Regions from separate parts of the Homo sapiens genome. Here regions 1 and 2 are each linked to region 3. Evidence: promoter capture Hi-C in human tissues and cell types (Jung and others, 2019). All regions are on one chromosome and are shown on one strand. Each heading gives the region's core, a stretch centred on a gene start or on the middle of the fragment in contact. The rest is flanking DNA. Distances are from core to core; before and after follow the strand shown. Region 1 holds the start of LINC02812 (long intergenic non-protein coding RNA 2812). Region 2 has its middle 23 kb from the start of LINC02812. Region 3 holds the start of LRP8 (LDL receptor related protein 8).

Region 1 (3,100 bases), core at 160-2,659, 40 kb before region 3:
AGCTCTCCTCCTATGGCCTCAGAGCTGTCCAGTCTGGGCTGGTGCCAGACCCTCTAGCGCTCGGCACACAGGAGGTGCTCATGAACCCCAGAGGACCTTGACGTAGAGAGCTGGTGTGGTGGATGCTGCGGTAGCCTAGGAAACGAAGAGGCCAGGGGTGGGGCCCAGCCACAATTGTGGGCCCTTTCTGGGCCTCAGTTGCCTTACTGCCAGTGGGGACCATAGTTGCTGCCCTCTCCACATGCAGAACACAGGTGAAATAATAATGGCTAATCCTCATGAAGTGCTTCCCAGGGGCTCTGTTGTCCCGAGAGTCACCTGTGTATTACCTCATTTAGTCCACATACCAGCCCTGCGGGGTAGACACTGTTACTCCACTTTACAGACAAAGACGCACGGAGGATTAGATAACTTGCCCAGAGACACAGCTGATTGTGGTGAAGGCTGGCTTCAGAGTCACTGCTCGGGCCCTTCACACTGCAGGTGGCAGGCTCAGGAAGGGGTATTTGTGCTCCAGCTTCTTGGGTTGTCAGAACTGGTTCTGGTCACCTCCTAAACACTGGCAGGACTTGCCAGGGCCACAGAGCCTGATGGTGTCTGGGCTTCCTGGACTGGGGAGCTCTGCTTAGCCCCGTCAGAGTGGACCTGAGCAGGCTGAACCCCAGGGCTCAGGCTGTGGGTGGGACTGTGGGAGGAGGAAGAGAGAGGGTCTGCCGCCAGCGGACTGGGCAGCAGGATAGACTGTCAGCAGGCAGCAGCAGCCTTGGCGTCATTCCCAGTCAAGGGCAGAGCTGCGTCCCTAGAGCCGCCTCCCGCCCCTGCCAGGACCCCACAGTTTCTCCTAGGGGTGAAGAGTGGCTGCGGCCCTGGGAGGAATGGCTGAGGCCGATGCCACATGGTGAGCCTAGGCACCCGGGCCCAGCTGGCTCCCAGCCCATCCATTGCTGGGATGGAAAGGGCAGGCAGTTGGAAGGGCAAAAGAAGGAAGCAACATGCCCACAAAGCCTCTGCTGGGCTAATCCTCTTCTAGTCCCCACACGGTACGTTGCGTGGAATGGTTAGGACAGCCTGTTTAACAGAAGGGAAACTGAGGACTGGCAGTGTGGAGGAAATAGACAATTAAAAGCAAAGAGACAGCTGGGCAGGGAGTGTTTGCAGCCCTGGAGGCAGATACAAAGTTGCACCCGGGCTAAAGCCTGAGAGACAGCATTTACTGAGCACCTTTTTTGTGCCTGGCAATGTGCTCTGTTAGCTCCATTTTACAGATAAGCAATCTAAGGTTCAGAAAAGAGGAAGCAGCCAGCCTCGGGCCATGCAGCTGGCTGAGTGAGAGCTCCTAACTTGTACTTTCTCCCCTCCCCGGAAGCTTTGGTTTGTTGGGGGAAGCAGATTCATATCAGACCCAAGGCAACTCAGCTGTGATTGAGATAGACATTGAGTCTTTTGGGAGACAGAAGGGAGGGAGAGTGCCAGTCAAAAGGGTTTCGTGAAGAAGGTTGCATCTGACTGGGACAGTTAGGCCTCTGTGTACCACTTTAAAAGGTAAGACAAGGGGAAAGAGGGCATGGGGAAAAAGGACTTGGGGACAGAGGGCATGGGGGCAGGCAGGTGAGGGCCGTGCTTGGAGAATTGTGAGGGGTCCTGGGAGGCTGGATCACTGGTTGTGGGGAAGGGAGGGAGGCCAGGCAACCCCTGATGGGGTCCCCTGGGGAGATAGCCCTGGGGCTTGGAGCATGGGGATGGGAAGTGACTGGGAGGACGCTGCACAGGGCATGGGGTGTGGGGAAGTGAGTGCCAGGGAGCTGGGTGTGGAGCCAGGCACCTGCCGGGCTTCTGGGTTCCCCCAGCAGCTCTCAGGGACTCAAGCTCTGCATCAGGCACACCTCAGTTTAAGTCCTGGCTCTGCCATTACTAGCTGGGTGGCCTTGGGAAGTTGCTTGTCATCTCTGAGGCTGGCTTTTCCCCTCTGTAAGGGGAAGATAACCATAGAACTCCCTCCAGGGGTGGCTGTGTATGGCAGCTGTCAGCGCTCAGGACATTTCACTTAACCCTTCTGACCTAGGAGTTAGGAGCTATCATCGCCCTCGTTTCGTGAAGGGCTGACCAGCGACTGATCATGGCTACGATGTAAAGGTGCAGACATTTTGACCTCCCATGGGATAATTTAGATGGGCCACATGGGCTCCAGGGATGGCTGAAACTCCGTTGGAGCTGCGTCACTGTTCACCTTCTCTCTACCAAATCCTGCTTCCTCCCTATCTCTTCCCCAGGTGTTGACTTTTCTAGTAAATATCCTCCATGTCAAAGTCTATCTCAAGATCTGTTCCAGGACAACCCCGCCTGCAACAGGGCCCATTTATGTTCCAGCCAGCACGGTGATCCTGAGTCTGGGAGGGTGCCCACAGACTGCTTTTGTGAGCAGCATGCCTTCAGTGGCCAGTCCCCAAGCCCCTCAACTCCATGTGGAGCAAGGACCAACCACCCCATGGAGAAGAGGAACCCGCCTGCAAGGCGAGCCAAGAAGGGACCTTTGGAACCAGCCACACTGGACTCTGTAGGGGGCTGGATGGCTGGCCCCAAAAGGATAGGTCCATGTCCTAAGCCCCAGAACCCGTAAATATTGCCTTATTTGGAAAGAAATTCTTTGTAGATGTCATTAGGGATTTTGAGATGAAGAGATCATCCTGTATTATGCAAGTGGGCCCTCAATCCAATGGCAAGTGTCCTTACAAGAGTAAGGCAGGGCTGGGTGTGGTGTCTCACACCTGTCATCCCAGCACTTTGGGAGGCCAAGGCAGGAGAATAGCTTGAGGCCAGGAGTTCAAGACTGGCCTGGGCAACGTAGTGAGACCCTCCATCTCTACAAAAAAAAAAAAAAAAAACAGAAAAAAACCCCACAAAGAACTAGCCAGACGTGGTGGCACATGCCTATAGTCCTAGCTACTCAGGAGGCTGAAATGGGAGGATGGCTTGAGTCTGGGAGGCAGAGGTTGCAGTGAGCAGTGTTGCGCCACTGCACTACAGCCTGGACAACAGAGCAAGACCCTGTTTCAAAAAGAAAAAAAAGCGGGGGGAGTGAGGCTGAAGGAGAGACACACAC
Region 2 (3,207 bases), core at 249-2,748, 63 kb before region 3:
CTGCCGGTGCTTTCCTGTGTAAGGCAGTGTTGGTCATTTCTCCTGACACCAATTTCATAGCCATCCTATGTACCCAAACAGAGACAGGGATTTTCCTGGAGGCACCTTCCTTTCCCTACTTGTAGCCTACATGGTTTATGTGGTGCTGACCCCATGCCAACCTCAGGGGTAAGCACATGGTGCAGACATGCCCCATTAGAGTACTGCATACACTGTGCCCAGTGACTAGTGTAGGGATGACTGTGCAACCCAGTCACAGTCAATGAAATGCAGCTGGATTCTGGTTAGATCTGTAAAAAAAAAAAAAAAAAAAAAAAAAAATCTCTCTCTGCTGGCCTTGATGTGGGAAAAATGAGACCAGCCCATGGAGAGAGTGTGCCAGGGAATTATGTTGATTAAGAAAATGGCAAAGCAGAGGGACCAGGTCCTCTTGACTTTGCTTATCTGCTGGATCCAGCCATGCCCGAAGCGAACCTGAGCCTTTTAGTTATGTGAGCCAATACATTCAATTTTTTGCTTATGCTAATTTGAGTTAGGTTTATGTCACTTGCAACTAAAAATCTCCTATCTGCTGCATACTACATACTACATACTAGGGAGATTTAAGACCAAAGAAAGATGGAAGTGAGAGGGAACCAATCAGATATGAGGGCCTGAACTTGAACAGGTACTAGGGAGAGAGATGTAGCCAGATCCAAGAAGAACTCCGCAGGCATTGTCAGTGGGACTCCCTGAGTGACTGGATTTGTTGGAAGAGGGAGAGAGAGAAGTGAGGATGAGTTAGTGGGGGCAGGGGACAGTCTTCCATTTACAGAGGCAGAGACTATGAGGTGTGGGCATGTGGAAAGACACCAACTTCCACTTGGCAAATATGTAATCTGGGTGCCCCTGGGCATCCTGGCATTTGTCCAGTGGGCCTCTGGCTGTGTGTGTCTGAGGGTCAGAAAGCTCCAGGAGGCCGAGTGTGGTCACTCACACCTATAATCCCAGCATTTTATTATAGGAGGCCAAAGTGGGAAGATTGCTTGAGCCCAGGAGTTCAAGACCAGCCTGGGCAACATGATGAAACCCTGTTTCCACAAAAAATGAAAAAAATTAGCTAGGTGTGGTGGCATATGCCTGTAGCCCCAGCTACTTGGGAGGCTGAGGCACGAAGATTGCTTGAGCCTGGGAGGTGGAGGCTGCAGTGAGCCGTGATCCTGCCACTGCACTCCAGCCTGGTTGACAGAAGGAGACATTGTCTCAAAAAAAAAAAAAAAAAAAAAAAAGAAGGAAAGAAAGGAAAAAACTCTGGGCCTGAGTAAGCTGAGTGGTCAGCAGAGGGGAGCGGCTGAAAGCTTCGAGGGTGGAGATGTTCCCCGGGAGATGGGAGAGTGTGGCAGAGGAGGCGGGCCCATGCGCTGAGGGGCACCTATGTTAAGGGAGAACAAAATGCTGGAAACAGAGAAGAAAAGGGTTTGGAGCTGACCCTCCAGAGAGCCCTGTGGGAGTCACTGCCAGCCCCCTTGTTAACCTGGCTGCCACCAGCCTGGAACGCCCGTCCCTAAGGGCAGAGACTATGTCTGATTCATTCCCCAGGGTATTCCAGCAGCAGCCTGGTGGTAGGCACTCGGTAACTTCTGGGTCCATGAGTGAAGGAAAAGGGAAAGAGCAGAAGGGCTGGTGGACTACAGATTGGAATTTGGCCCAACTTCTTTAAAAAAAAAACAAAACAAAACAAAAAAACACATAGATTGGAACATTAGGAAACCAGGTTGGTGAGTTCCTTGGAGGGGGTGCCTTTGTCTGGTGCCTCTGTGAGGCCTGTCTCCTCCAATTTCAGGGCCAGAGTCCTCCCCACTCCCCTTCTCCTCCTTCTGCTGTCTCAAGTCACAGCCAGGGAGGAGCTGGCAGGAAAACAGGCCACTTGGTTTCATTTCCCTTTTCGAGAGCCTGGTGTTCCCTTAATGTATGTGTCCCCTGGCACCTGGCCCTGGCTCCTCTGCCTCCTCCCGAGGCAATGTCTCCACTCTCAAGGCTTCCAGACGCTTCCCTCTGCTGACCATCATGCTGTCTGCTCAGGCCTGGAGCTCTCTGACCCGCAGACACACACGACCAGTGGCCCACTGGGCAAGCACCAGGATGCCCAGGGGCACCCAGACTGCACAATTGGGATGTGGCAGCTGGTGTCTTTTCACGTTCCTGCTCCTCATACTCTCTGCCTTGGTGGATTACATGATCTTGACCCCCTGGCAGGTCCTTCTCTCTGTCCCCCAAACCCACTCAAATCCAGCTACTCCTCAAGTCCTTTTGAGGCTGCCTGCTAAGTTCTCAGATCTGCCCTTTGTTCTTCCTCAGGGCTTGCTGAGTCCATGCCCTCACACTGGCTGGTTCTGCTCATTCTTACCCATCCTCCTGGCTCCTGCTGTGATCTGAATGTTGGTGTTCCCCCAAAATTCATATGTTGGAACCTAATACCCAATGGGATAATATAAAGAGGTGATTAAGTCATGAGGGTTCCACCCTCATAAATGGGGCTCATGCCCTTAAAAAGATGCTCGGGGCCGGGCGTGGTGGCTCATACCCATAATCCCAGCACTTGGGAGGCCAAGGGTGGATCACTTCCGGCCAGGTGTTTGAGACTAGCCTGGGCAACATGGTGAAACCCCGTCTCTATTAAAGAGACAAAACAGATCCTCAGGGGGCCTTCTTTGCTCCTTCCACCAAATGAAGACACAGCAAGAAGTTGCGGTCCATAAGGAACAGGCGCTCGCCAGACACCAAACCTGCCAGCACCTCAATCTTGGACTTTCCAGCCTTCAGAACTGTGAGCAATACATTGGTATTGTTTATAAATTACCCAGTCTACAGTATTTTGTTATAGCCACCTGAATGGACTAAGACAGCCCCCAAGCTCCCTGACACTGCTGGCGCCTGCTGGGAACCAGACTCACCCACCCCCCTCCCCACCCCTGGGCCACAACTGCTGCCACCATCCACCAGTCTCCTTTGTTATTTCTTCCCCTTCCCCTTTCTCCCACACTTCCCCCCACCCCCAGCCTGGGATCCAGACACTGTCCTTGCCAAATGGGGTGGAGTGAACTCCTTAACATGGCAGGTGGGTACTAGGAGTGCCAGGCTGGACATTGTAGGTGAGGAGAGGCAGATGGCCTCCTGCACACACTGGGAGCTGGTGCACCACACTGACTGTGCTGCCTGGGGGCTGAC
Region 3 (3,265 bases), core at 766-3,265:
AGATAAGAAAGTGAGACTGGGAGATAGGATTGACTTTCCTAAGACCACAGAGTGGAGGAGGAGGAGGGACTGAGTTGGATAGGTCAGTTTGGGCAGCAAGACGGGCTTCTATCTTTATCCCACAGTCCCAGGCACCATTGTGCTTGACACAGAATCCAAACTCCCAGCTGTGGCCTACAAAGCCCTGGTGATCAGGGCCTTGCCAACTCCCTCCAGCCTCACCTGAGGCACCCACTCCTTCCCTGTCATCAGGCCCCGGCCCACCTTGATTGCCATTCCCTTTGCCAAGAATGCCCTTCCGCCTGATCTTCATGGGTCAGGATCCATCTTGCCATTCAGTGAAATGTCACCTCCTCTGTGAGGCCTTGCCTGATCACCTCTACAGTTACCCCCATTGCTCTCACCTGGGTCTGTTTTGTTTTTTCCATAGAAGTTATGATGACCTGAAATAATCTTTTGTTTTCCTGCTTTTGTGTGTATCTCTTCCAACTAAGACATAACTGCAGGAGAGCAGGGAGGAACCTTATCTGTTTCCACTGTATCCTTGAGCCTTGAAGGGCGTTTGGCACATATAGGTGAAAGGACGCCTGCATTTCGTTGTCTGTGTGCTAATGGTCTGTCTCCCCACAGGTCAGGGACCTCTCCGGGGCTGGCACCATGCCTGATTCACCTTGGTACCCGCAGGCCCAGCACAGGGTTGGCACAGAACAGGGCCTGAAATGCTTGCTGAATGACTGAATGAACAAGGGACAGGAGGGGTGATGATGGCAGGAGCACCGTGCCGGGCTCTCTGGGGATCTAAGTCCCTTTCTGGTGGGGTGGCCACAGATATTGCCGCTGGGCTGCCCTTTGGGGGACTACGGCTCAGGAGGCTGCTGAGGAGACAGGGTGGTTTCCAGGCCAAGGGCTAACAGCACCTGCCCATCCGCGAGGGAGGTGAAGGGGCAAGAGGGGAGGGAGGGTGGACCTAACACTGGCTCTTGGCACCTGCAGGCCGGTTGTTTTGAGTGGCCAATGCCCTGGAATCTCATTCTCTAAAGAAGGTTGTGTGGGTTGGACCCGGCTCACAAGTCTGAGGCTGAAATCGAATCCCAGCTCGCTCTCCGCACCCATTCTCCCCAGTGTGGGTGAGGCGGGCTGCAGCCCTCCAGAGGAAGAGGTGCCTTCTCCTTCCTGCAGAAGACAGCAGGGGCGGACAGCGCGGGCCTAGGTGCGCGGCCCCTAGCGGCAGGGATGGCATCCCTTCCGTGCCCTCCCCTTCCCCCCCGCCCGGCCCGCCCCACAGACCTCGTCTTTCTCCATCACAGCGAGGATTCCTTGTCTTCCCTGCGGGCCCCCCCTGGTTGCCCCTCTGACTAGGGGCCTGGAGCGTACTTAACGACGATGAATAGTCTGTGCACCAGGCCCAATCCACCTGCCTCACGTCCCCATGATCACATGAGCGTGCAACATGCACAGATGCACATGGCACGGAAACCAAACCAGCCACAGGGATTTATAATATCCCAGCCGGAGCCCATGACAGGTGCAGGGGTCCAGCCCTGCGCCCCCAGCTTCTCCCTGCTCATCCACATCTTGGGATCTCACCCCTATCCCTCCCTCCCCCGCCCCACGCGCACACTGCACAGGCCTGTTCGTCCTGTAACATCATTTCCCCTCCCGCCCAGGCTCACTCCTAGACATCCCTCAGCCTCTGATCCGCCTGTCACCTCCTCCAGGAAGCCTCTGCTGCTTCCTCTGGACCTGCTACCTCCGTGGTGAGGGGCTCGCCTGGCCCATCCCTGCGTCTGCAGAGCCCAGCACTCAGGCGAGCCCAGAGCAGGGCCGTGGAGCGCCCGCTGAGAGAAGAGTGGACGAAAGACAGGAGGGAGGAGGGCGAGGAGGCGGCGGCAGGGGGAGCGTGGGGCGGAGGCGGCAGCGGGAGGGAGCGCGCGCGCTGGCGGCGGCCGCCCAGGGCCGGGGCCGCGCGCCCAGCCTGAGCCCGCCCCGCCGCCGAGCGTCACCGAACCTGCTTGAAATGCAGCCGAGGAGCCGGGGCGGGCGGCAGCGGCGGCGGCGGCGGCGGCGGGGGCAGCGGCAACCCCGGCGCCGCGGCAAGGACTCGGAGGGCTGAGACGCGGCGGCGGCGGCGCGGGGAGCGCGGGGCGCGGCGGCCGGAGCCCCGGGCCCGCCATGGGCCTCCCCGAGCCGGGCCCTCTCCGGCTTCTGGCGCTGCTGCTGCTGCTGCTGCTGCTGCTGCTGCTGCAGCTCCAGCATCTTGCGGCGGCAGCGGCTGATCCGCTGCTCGGCGGCCAAGGTGCGTGCAGCCGGTCTCTGACTCGGCTCTGCTCCGCCCTAGCCACCAACAAAGCGCGGCCGGGAGGCCGGAGCGGGGAGGGGTCCAGAACCCGGGGCTATCGGGGGCTCCCGGGCGGACAGGCTCCACGCGAAGCGGCTATTCCTGAATTTGCCCTCGGCCCCCCGCCCCCGCGGGCCTCGGTGTTGAGGGCTCTGCCCTCTGGGCAGCGGATCTTGGGGGAGGGGTGCAGGGGGGCTTGGCCAGCGGGGAACTTTGCCGGAGGGGCGGCCATTCATGGTTCCGGATGAGCTGTGTGATTCTCGCCGTTGGGGTTTATTTGACACGCGCGCTCCGCGGCGGTAATGAGCAGAGCCGGGCGGCTTCTCCGCTTGACAATGCGTTTCCGCAGACCCCTGCGCGCGGCGGAGAGAGAGGGGGCTGCCTGCCAGGGTGATGTGCCTGCGGCTCCCACTGCGCCTGGCGCGCGGGCGCGGGGACTCCCTATGGGCTGTATCTGAGCAGATCTCTGACTATGGGTCGCGTGTGCGGGTGAGTGCGTCTGAATGGAGGGTATACCCAGGTCGTGTGACACTTTAAGTAGGTGCCTGGTCTCGCCGTGCCACCGAGCGGCCCGACATCCACGGAACCCCTGCCATCGTGCCCTCCCTTTGGATGGAGTGTGCCTGAAGCCCCCGGGGTCTCCATAATCGCCCCCTTTCCTCCTCCCCAGCGGGTCCTTCCGGGTGGCCCGGACTGCATGGTGGGGAGTGGGGCCGAGTCCGCTGATCCAGCTCACGCTCCCTCCCCCTCGCAGGGCCGGCCAAGGATTGCGAAAAGGACCAATTCCAGTGCCGGAACGAGCGCTGCATCCCCTCTGTGTGGAGATGCGACGAGGACGATGACTGCTTAGACCACAGCGACGAGGACGACTGCCGTGAGTGGCGGGCCAGGGAGCTCAGACCCGGGGAGAGAAAAGGAACGGTGGGG

What was found. The method cuts DNA at HindIII sites, captures the fragments that hold promoters and counts their contacts. A contact is called where the count stands out against the background at its distance.
Region 1: a fragment that was not itself captured here is called in contact with the fragment with the promoter of LRP8 in region 3 in 4 of the 25 tissues and cell types used here (mesenchymal stem cells, mesendoderm cells, stomach and 1 more).
Region 2: a contact is called between a fragment that was not itself captured here and the fragment with the promoter of LRP8 in region 3, in 2 of the 25 tissues and cell types used here (aorta and hippocampus).

The regions. Positions count from the first base shown.
Region 1 is chr1:53,366,448-53,369,547 of GRCh38, reverse strand. It overlaps LINC02812 (long intergenic non-protein coding RNA 2812), which reads left to right and starts at 1,399. Exons shown (of 2, transcript XR_001738058.2): 1 at 1,399-1,542; 2 at 2,271-3,100. The HindIII fragment of the contact is 5,363 bases long and covers 1-3,100 here.
Region 2 is chr1:53,389,188-53,392,394 of GRCh38, reverse strand. No RefSeq gene overlaps it. Among named protein-coding and RNA genes, the nearest start is that of LINC02812, 23 kb to the right of the region's middle. The HindIII fragment of the contact is 5,801 bases long and covers 1-3,207 here.
Region 3 is chr1:53,326,820-53,330,084 of GRCh38, reverse strand. It overlaps LRP8 (LDL receptor related protein 8), which reads left to right and starts at 2,015. Exons shown (of 19, transcript NM_004631.5): 1 at 2,015-2,296; 2 at 3,093-3,212. The coding sequence starts at 2,173. LRP8-DT (LRP8 divergent transcript) reads right to left here and starts at 1,852. Exons shown (of 3, transcript NR_131923.1): 1 at 1,710-1,852. RefSeq lists enhancers at 1,579-1,808, 2,859-2,968 and silencers at 1,879-2,078, 2,149-2,298, 2,349-2,518, 3,034-3,265. The HindIII fragment of the contact is 17,458 bases long and covers 1-3,265 here.